2 separate regions of the Homo sapiens genome follow, and region 2 is linked to region 1. Evidence: promoter capture Hi-C in human tissues and cell types (Jung and others, 2019). All regions are on one chromosome and are shown on one strand. The core of a region is centred on a gene start or on the middle of the fragment in contact, and the rest is flanking DNA. Distances in the headings are between cores, read along the strand shown.

What was found. The method cuts DNA at HindIII sites, captures the fragments that hold promoters and counts their contacts. A contact is called where the count stands out against the background at its distance.
Region 2: a contact is called between a fragment that was not itself captured here and the fragment with the promoter of PIWIL3 in region 1, in 2 of the 25 tissues and cell types used here (dorsolateral prefrontal cortex and mesendoderm cells).

What each region holds. Positions count from the first base shown.
Region 1 is chr22:24,772,170-24,777,349 of GRCh38, reverse strand. It overlaps PIWIL3 (piwi like RNA-mediated gene silencing 3), which reads left to right and starts at 2,630. Exons shown (of 21, transcript NM_001255975.1): 1 at 2,630-3,028. The HindIII fragment of the contact is 9,839 bases long and covers 1-5,180 here.
Region 2 is chr22:25,329,797-25,334,976 of GRCh38, reverse strand. No RefSeq gene overlaps it. Among named protein-coding and RNA genes, the nearest start is that of CRYBB2, 110 kb to the right of the region's middle. The HindIII fragment of the contact is 8,465 bases long and covers 1-5,180 here.

The DNA.
Region 1 (5,180 bases), core at 1,381-3,880:
TGTTTTCTTTTCTTTTTTTTTTTTTTTTTTTTTTGAGACGGAGTCTCACACTGTCACCTGGGCTGGAGTGCAATGGCTCAATCTCAGCTCACTGCAACCTCCACCTCCTGGGTTCAAGCGATTCACTTGCCTCAGCCTCCCAAGTAGCTGGGATTACAGGCGCCCGCCACCACGCCTGGCTAATTTTTTGTATTTTTAGTAGAGACGGGGTTTCACTATGTTGGCCAGGCTGGTCTTGAACTCCTGACCTCGTGATCTGCCCACCTTGGCCTCCCAAAGTGCTGGGATTACAGGTGTGAGCCACCGTGCCCAGCCCTGTCCTGTTTTCTTTGACAGTTGTTCCAGTCTCAGTGCAGTTTTCAAGCCTTTGCTATGCTGGTGTATCCACTTGGGTAAATCTGGGAGTTGAGTGGTGGTTTATATTATAGTTCGTTTCTCAAAACCCTTGCTCTGCTTCTGTGCATGCATAGTTCAGGGTGATCCTAGGACTTATGTTAATTCATACATCCATTTAAGTGATCCCCTTTAGCTTTCTCCTCTGCAGGATTCTGCAGGGTTCCGTTTTCATGCTCCTATCAGTGTTGCAGCACCCGTGCTGCTGTGCAGTTACACGCGTCTAGGTCAGCCTTTCAAGTGAAGTACAGGAAGAAACAAAAAGAGATTTCCCCTATACTTTTCAGATGCAGAAGTCTCTTTCCTTTTCCTCTGCCCAGTGAGCCAAGTGATTTCTCAGGGCTTTAGGTCCCTCTGCCATTGCTGAGGCTGCAGGACAGCTTTGCAACTGGGGAGATAAAAACAAAACAAACCAAGGATGATCCCCTTACTCCTTGATGTGCAGGAGACCCCTTTCCCACTAGCCTAGCTAGAAATTTAGGTGGTTTATCACAGACTTTTTACTTTCAGTGCCTGCTGGACAGTTCTATGACTCCACATGCCCTTGGGTAAACCAGAAGAAAGAGGAGGAAAATTAACTTACTATAGTCACCCCATTGAAAGGGCCTTTGCAAAACTCATAACTGAGAAAATTATGACAGTGAAACAGATCAGACCTAACCGACCACACCTTGCTTCTAACGCCTAAGCTGTCTTTGTTCATTCCTGGGCATAGGCCAAACTAGTCTTGGGGAAGAATTGTTTATAGTTTAAATTCTGAAACAAAACTGATAATAGTCCTTTCCTGAAAAAAAGACGCTTCTTGCGTGGGGAACTGTCCTGCCTTTGTAGGACTAACAAATTAGCTACAAGATGAGAGATTACGGCTTAGGGGCCATGCAGCTTCTGGCCGCAAGAGTCTGAACCTCCCCAAGTTGCTTCTGGGAATAAAATCTCCGTTGCAAAACTTAAGATCAGTGCTTGAGATATTTTGCATACCCTGAATTCCGATGCAGCAGATGACACCACCCAGACTGATAATCTGGCTCAACCAGTCCTGCGATCTCATCCAGGAAGAGAAATCAGCAAGAACTCACTTCCACCCCCATGATTCCATCTCCAACCCGACCAATAAGCACTCCCTACTTCCTGAGCCCATACCCACCAAATCATTTTTAAAAACTCTGATCCCCGACTGGGCATGGTGGCTCACGCCTGTAATCCCAAGGTGGGTGGATCACTTGAGGTCAGAAGTTTGAGATCAGCCTGGCCAATATCATGAAACCCCGTCTCTACTGAAAATACAAAAATTAGCCTGGTGTGGTGGCATGCACCTGTAATCCCAGCTACTCAGGAGGCTGAGTCAGGAGAATCGCCTGAACCCGGGAGGCGAAGGCTGCAGTGAGCAGAGATCACATCACTGCACTCTAGCCTGGACGACAGAACGAGACTCCATCTCAATAAATACATAGAGATATAAATAAAATAAAATAAAATAAAGTTTCTTAAAAAAAATAGGAAATCTCCTGAAAAACCTTTTCAGAAAAATAGCCACAGGTGCATGTTTGGCTCGTGTTTTTCCCAGAAACAACCTAAATCTGGCTTGATAAACCTTGATTGATGTATTTGCCCCAGTCACTCATGTTGTAACCAGCAAAAGGGCCCAGCTGCTCACTGCTTGTAGAAAGAAGTCAAAATGATAATGACATGTGATTTAAAAAGAAAGAATTTTATAATCTATGCTAGCAAGGGCAAGAGCAGAGAGCAATTCCACTCTTCCACGTGAGGAAAGAACGCAGGGGTTTTTTTTGTTTGTTTTTTGCGACGGTGTCTTGCTCTGTCGCCCAATCTGGCTGGAGTGCAGTGGCGCAATCTCAGCTCACTGCAACCTCCGCCTTCTGAGTTCAAGCGATTCTCCTGCCTCAGCCTCCCGAGTTGCTGGGACTACAGGCACATGCCACCATGCCCAGCTGATTTTTTGTATTTTTAGTAGAGACGGGGTTTCCCCGCGTTAGTCAGGATGGTCTCCATCTCCTGACCTCGTGATCCTCCGGCCTTGACCTCCCAAAGTGCTGCGATTACAGACGTGAGCCACTGCGCTCGGATGAACGCAGGGGTTTTTATTTATTTTATTTTATTTTTTAAGATATTTATTTATTTGTTTATTTTTTGAGACAGAGTCTCACTCTTTCACCCGGGCTGGAGTGCAGTGGCGTGATCTCGGCTCACTGCAAGCTCCGCCTCCCGGGTTCACGCCATTTTGCTGCCTCAGCCTCCCGAGTAGCTGGGACTACAGGTGCCCGCCACCACGCCCGGCTAATTTTTTGTATTTTTAGTAGAGATAGGGTTTCACTGTGTTAGCCAGGATGGTCTCCATCTCCTGACCTCATGATCTACCCGCCTCAGCCTGCCAAAGTGCTGGGATTACAGGCGTGAGCCACCGCGCCCGGCCAAAGCGGTTTTTAAAGGGAGGATTTGGAAGGCAAAAGAGGCAGGGGGACTGGGAGGTGTCAGGTGGTGTGACCCCCTCCAGTGGCTTGTCCTGAATTATTTTTCCATCTGTGGAAGTGGCCGGCGTCATCATGGCTGGAGGAGGTGCATGGTTCGTATCAGGATCTGACTACTGAAGCTTCTAAGGAAATATGTGACCAGATAAGTGAGTATGGTGTGTGCTTACCAAACAACTAGGTAAATAAATGTGCATAAGGCATGGGGGCATAGAACAGGAAAAGAAAGGGGGTGGAGGTTCACAGCACATTCCAAGGCTGGATTTCAAGAGGAGAGGAAACACGTCTATACTTTGTCTAAGTTACATCTTCAGATTAGCAGAAGAGAGGAAAGGGGAAAGGAAAAAAAGTTTTAAAATGCGGTTTGAGGTTAGGCTGCTAAGCTGCTGGGTTACAGATTCAGCTTATATTTGAGCATGTGGAGTATGTATATTTATTTTAAAAATCTAGAGCATCTTGGTCAGCCACAGTGGCTCATGCCTGTAATCCCAGCACTTTGGGAGGCTGAGGCGGCTGGACCATGAGGTCAGGAGTTCAAGACCAGCCTGGCCAAGATGGTGAAACCCCGTCTCTACGAAAAATACCAAAATTAACTGGGCGCAGTGGCGGGTGCCTGTAGTCCCAGCTACTTGGGAGGCTGAGGCAGGAGGATTGCTTGAACCTGGGAGGCGGAGGTTGCAGTGAGCCAAGATCGCACCACTGTACTCCAGCCTGGGCAACAGAGTGAGTGAGACTCCCATCTCAAAAAAAAAAAAAAAAAAAAAAAATCTAGAGTGTCTTGTACATATCCTTTAATAACCTACTTTTAAAAACTTAATATATTTTAGATACATATGTATATGTGTACCTACTTACATCCTTAAAACTGACGTGATGATAAATAAAACCGCGGAATTTCTATCAATATGTAAATGCTCTTCTCAGAAAAGGCGGGCTCTTTGCTCCTGTGGTTGATGGGGATGATGCAGATGGTGGCAGAGGCTTCCATTTTTTGAGCATTCGTTGTGGGACCTGCCAGTGCTTCAAGCTCAATACACCTTCTCCCATTTAACCCTCACAGCTCAGGAGGGGGTCCTGCCGGGACCTCCACTGCAGACAGGAAAAGAGGAGAAAGTTGGTATCTTCTGAATTCTTTTGGCAAAAGGAGAAGGGAAGAGGGTTCCTGTGCAGGGCATGCAGGAAGGCAGGAGTATGGAAAAGGGGGAAGGGACAGTGTGTAATGCCCTCCCTGCTGAGCCACATGGTTGGAATGGAGCATCACAGCAGAGATGGCAGAGCCAGAAACCCTAGGATCCGGTGTCAGAGGGACACAGGGCCCAGCTGCCAATGTGTGGCCCAGAGCAGTGGAGGACACCTTGGTTATGCCCTGGCACACAGCTTTCTACTGTCCTGGCATCTAAGCCCTGGGGACTGGGGCAGTGGGGTCAGTGCCCTCAGCTGGACACAGACACGTGGAGCAGAACTTGAAAAAGATGGGCCCCTGAGCCCATAGGACCCAGAGACCCAGCACCCAGGGAGGCCTGGGGAGGGAGAAGGACGCCCTCAGCTAGCACATGGGGGCTTGAGGTCCAGATAACTGTTAAGGTACCTCATCTGATCTCCCCACAGGGGACACCCGGCACATGCAGGCCTCCTTCCTGACTTCTCTGCCAACCTTTTCCCCAGCCTTAAAACTTTCTCTTCCCGATGTCATTGTGACACTTCTTCAGTTCTCCTTCTAGTCCACTAGATGCTGCTGTGCACCCACCTAAGCACCACCATTTCTAATTCCTGGGATCCTAGTTTGGGAAAGACAGGGGAGCTGGTCAGCCGTTCGGATTTCCCAGTGGGTAGAATGGAGACTGCAGCCTTTGCCAGGGCTCTTCTCCACTGTGGTAGTGATTTTAACTCCAGTAGCTGTAACTTGCTGAGCACTCAGCACCTGCTGAGCTCTTTGCACAGATTGGCTCCTGTAACCCCCACAGGCCCCTGTGACATAAGTTTTCAATACCCAACATACTAGGAAACAGGGTCTCAGAGAGATGATATCACCTGCTCAGGGTCACACAGCACATACCTGGACAGGCTATGATTCCACAAAGGTTTTTGTCTAAGTCCAAATGCCAGGGACATAATATTGTCCTGTTGCTCATAGAAGTTGCTATTTAATGAGCTCCTATTATGCAGACTTTATTCCTTCAATATAAGATTTACTTACATTGTGAAATATACAACTACTTAGTACTTAATACTTATATTGATAAGATTTACTTCTCTTTATTAATATGATTATCAAATCTAAGGGTTTAATCTTTCATTCTG
Region 2 (5,180 bases), core at 1,107-3,606, 560 kb before region 1:
CAGGTGTGCACCACCACACCCAGCTAATTTTTGTAGAGACGGGGTTTCACCACGTTGGCCAGACTGGTCTCGATCTCCTGACCTCAGATGATCCACCCGCCCCGGCCTCCCAAAGTGCTGAAATTATAGGCGTGAGCCACCATGCCCGGCCCTGAACTTTTAATTGTAAATATTTCAATGTATTTAAATGAGGGCCGGGCACGTTGGCTCATGCCTGTAATCCCAGCACTTTGGGAAGTCGAGGTGGGCGGATCATGAGGTCAGGAGATCGAGACCATCCTGGCTAACACCATGAAACCCCGTCTCTACTAAAAATAAAAAAAAATTAGCCGGGCGTGGTGGCAGGCGCCTGTAGTCCCAGCTACTCGGGAGGCTGAGGCTGGAGAATGGCGTGAACCCGGGAGGTGGAGCTTGCAGTGAGCCGAGATCACGCCACTGCACTCCAGTCTGGGCGACAGAGCGAGATTCCACCTCAAAAAAAAAATACGAGGCGGCACATATATGACTGAGAACCACACTAGACGGCACAGGAGATCCAGACATGAGGAAGACATGACTCCCCTCCCCTGGTGTTTTCTTGCGAAATAGTTTGCAGCTCTGCTCCTACCATACGTTTATGGTTACTTCCTGGGCATCTGCACAAGTGCCAGTCACTGTGTGGGGCTGGGGATATGACAACAATGAGGACAACATCCAGGTCCAGAGGGATTCCAGCAGGGGGCGCACGTGCACACAGGGGAAGAGCGTGGCCCTGCACAGCCTGTCTAGACAGGATCAGCGCAGCAGGAACCGAGGGGCAGGGGTACCTCACTGTCCTCAGGAGCTCAAGTTCATCTCCAGGGACCCTGACTCAGAAGCTGGGGCAGCCTCCAGGATTGGTGTAGGGCTCAACAGGCTGGACAGGCTGAGAAGGGAACATTTCCACAACTAAGCTAGATCCCACCCCAGAGGCGACCTAGAACTCATCCCAGGGATGTGTTCATTACAATGCCCATGGGGCCTAACATGTTCGCCCCAGGACTGAGCTCTGGGATAAGGACTAATGAGGAAGACACAGTCACTGCCCTGGCAGAAAACACCCATAGCCAGGGTTCCTCTATCCACCCTGTGGGAAGACACAACACAGACTTTGACACTGAAGATTCCAAACCTTCTATAAAATAAGTGGAAACTGATGTACTCTGGATTCTAAGAAGAGTTGCAAGGATGAGCTGGACTCTGGAATCAGTCCCCATCCCTCTGCTGAGCTCATGGTGCACTGGCACTCGTGTCCCTCCTCACCTCCCCTGCTACTCGGGAGTGCTGCAGCTACAGGCCCAGTGCTAGGGGGCGCTGTCCAGTTGAAACACGTCAGCCAGGCACAGTGGCTCACGCCTGTAATCCCAGCACTTTGGGAGGCTGAGGCAGGTGGATCATCTGAAGGAGTTCAAGACCAGCCTGGCCAACATGGAGAAACCCCATCTCTACTATAAATACAAAAATTAGCTGGGCATGGTGGTGCACGTCTGTAATTCCAGCTACTCAGCAGGCTGAGGCAGGAGAATCACTTGAACCTGGGAGGTGGAGGTTGCAGAGAGTTCAGATCCTGCCACTGCACTCCAGCCTGGGCAACAGAGTGAGACTCTGTCTCAAAACAAACAAACAAACAAAACAACAAAAACACATTTCTGGGCCAGACAACCCTTGGTCAACAGTGTCTCCTCAAGGACCATTCCTCAAGTGACTTCCAGAAGAGGTGAAAAAGAAAAACTCATCTGTCCCAGCCCCAGGAAGATCAGGCCTGGGACCTGTGTCCTGACCCTGAAGTCCATCCCTGCTGATTTGTGTCCTGTCTGCTCCGTGTCAGAGAAGTGGGGACCTGATTCCTGTTCTGCCCCCCAACCAATTTCTGCTGGTGTCACTGCCATCATCACATACAGATGGAGAAGACAAGAGAAAGCAATGAAACTCCATTCTTGAGGCATTTAGGATGATGTCCATGCCATGCTTTCGGCAGACAGGAAGGCCAGGTCCTGTTCACTCCTACTCAGAAGGGGTCTAAGAGATATGAGTACTAACTGTGATATTTCTCCTCTGCTCTTCCCTTCCTTTTTTCTTTTTTTTTTTTTAAGACGAAGTCTCGTCCAGTCACCCAGGCTGGAGTGCAATGGCTCAATCTCGGCTCACTGCTACCTCTGCCTCCTGGGTTCAAGTGATTCTCCTGCCTCAGCCTCCTGAGTACCTGGCATTACAGGTGCCCACCACCACACCCAGCTAATTTTTGTATTTGCAGTTGAGACGGGGTTTCACCAGCTCGGCCAGGCTGGTCTTGAACTCCTAACCTCAGGCAATCCACCCACCTCGGCCTCCCAAAGTGCTGGGATTAGAGGCTTGAGCCACCGCGCCCAGCCCATGTCTTCCGTTTCTTTACACTGTGTGCGTCCATTGAGTCAGTGGCTGCTCATGCTCACACCAGCCCCCGACAGTGGGACAGTCCATCATGGGGATCAGTACATGGTGAGCGCTAAGCCTCACTAACGTAGCGATGCAGGAGGTCTCCAGTGAGATTGATGGGCACCAGGCTAACAACAATGTCCTCTGAGTTCTGATGTGGCACTGGCCCTTGTCCGTCTGCTATGGATTGGAGCTTTTTTTTTTTTTTTTTTTTTTGAGACAGAGTTTCACTCTGCCACTCAGACTGCAGTGCAGGGGTTCGATCTTGGCTCACTGCAACCTCCACCTCCCAGGTTCAAGTGATTCTCCAGCCTCAGCCTCCCAAGTAGCTGGGATTACAGGTGTGTGCCACCATGCCTGACTACTTTTTGTATAAAAATACAGGCTTTCACCATGTTGGCCAGGCTGGTCTCAAACTCCTGACTCAGGTGATCGGCTGTCTCAGCCTCCCACCGTGCCCGGCCATGGATTGGAGCATTTCTAAGGCTTGAGGTACTCATGTTACTAAATACAATGCAATATCTTCCTGATCCTTCCCTGCTTTGACCAAGTGCTAAGGAATGATCGCAGCACTGACAGATGTTGACCTGCACTATTCCATGTGATCCCTTACACTTCTCAGAATCTGTGAGCTGACCAGAAGCCTGTGGGCTTTCTATGTATATTTCACAGTAATGTCCATGCCAACGTCTATTGTTCCGTGTACCTTTTGCTACCCAGGGTTATGTGACCAATGGGGCCCCATTTGATGATGGGCAATGTTTGGCACGCTTATAGGCCATCCACTACCACTACCAGGGGCACACATAGGTGCTGGAACTCCCTGGTGTAGGGTCATATCACCAAGCCTGAGTGCTGACACAGTTAAGTAATACAGACCATCAACATCGGGACCCATTTCTGGGTTCACTTTTGCCTTTTCCATTCAGGAGGTCAAAATCTGGGTTCATTCCTTTCTGCACTCTCTCCATATAAGGAGTAGGGATATTAAACTGACCTTCAGGTACAGCTGTGGTGAGGGAGTAAAGAGGTCATTTATGTAAAGTGTATGGTGGTGTTGAAGTTTTTCTTCCTTTTTATTAGAAGAATGACATGACTCGGGAGGCTGAGGTGAGAGAACCACCATAGGCCAGGAATTCAAGAAAACTGACACTTGCACTGTGCTGGGCATGCGGGTCCACATTTTAGGGGAAAAACACACATTTACAAACACATTCACAATCACTACACATTAATTCATCCCTAGCTAACTCCCAACCCTCATGCACACAAACCCACACCATCTAAATGATACGGCTGTTTCCAGGGACTCCAGTGGATGATGACAGTTCTTCACTGAGCCATCTGTTTCTCACAGTGCACTCCAGGTCCTCACTCCTATCAGGAACCTGAGGCCAGGCAGGCTCTCCAGACAAAAGCAGGGAATAGAGCCCCCCACAACCCATCACTTAGATTTGTATCAGCAAGGGAGTGGTCTTAGGATATATACGGTGTTAGAGAAGAGAACAAGACACACTCGGGCCTGTCGGGGCAGGGGAAGGGAGAGCATCTGGATAAACAGCAAATGCATGCAGGGCTTAATACCTAGGTGATGGTTTGACAGGTGCAGCAAACCACCATGGCACACTTTTACCTATGTAACAAACCTGTACATCCTGCACATGTATCTCAGAACTTAAAAAAAAAAAAAAAAAAAACAAGTTAAAAAAGAAACGGCCGGAGTAGGCAAATCTACAGCAATAGAAAGTAGATGAGTGGCTTCCTATCGCCAGAGGTGTGGGGGTTGGAAAAAGAGAGGAGTAACCACTAATGGATACAGGGTTTCTTCGTGGAGGAATGAAAACGTTCTAAAATGAGATTGTACAATGGTTGCACAACCCTGTAAATACAGTAAAAACACTGAATCACCCACTTTAAATGGGTGAATTGTTTTGCATGTCAACTATTTCTCAATAAAGCTTTTTTTAAAAATAATAAATACATACGGTAGGAATTTTGGGCAATGGGTTTTCATGGAATATTTGCAAGTCCATGTTGGCTGGCAAATACAAAATTATTTTTCAAGAAGAAAAAGTTGCTACTAAAAAATATGCTCACTACCAGACAGTTTGTAGGTAATGCTGTCATTTTTTACTGTCATCATCAATTAGGCCTCAGTTGTTCATAAACTCATGGCTGGTCACTAGAGTCCATGACCAACTGAAGCTTGATCAACTGAAGCTTGATTGACAATGGCAATCAAAAATGATATTCACTTGATATTCCCCCCACCAAGAAAATTGTCTTAGTCATCTGTTATGTATATGGTCAGACTTTTATGTCTTCATTTCATTAATAAGGGAAGAAGCCCCAGAAAAAAAAAAAATTCTCTTCCAGATGAAGGAATGCATCTCACCATTTCAGATAACACCTCCTCCGCAATATCAAGCGCAATATCTTCCAGGTCCAGAACAGAAGCTAGGAGAACATAGAGTAATAGTCAGTGCATTGGTGCTTCTCAGGAATCCCACTAGGAGCCTTGGGGGATGTGGGGACCAGCGCTGAAGTCTATGGAGGTGGGTGGTTGACAAGCATGGACTGAGCTGCTGCTGGACCATTCTCTTTGGTGTGGAAGGAAAGCAAAGGAGAGGAGGAGAAATGTGAAATATTAGCGTTAAGAACTGATTAATACAGAAAGGCACTGTATGGTTCTGTGAGAGCATCTCCTCACACCTCCTGCCCATTTGAAGGTCCAGGCCAATCCCCTC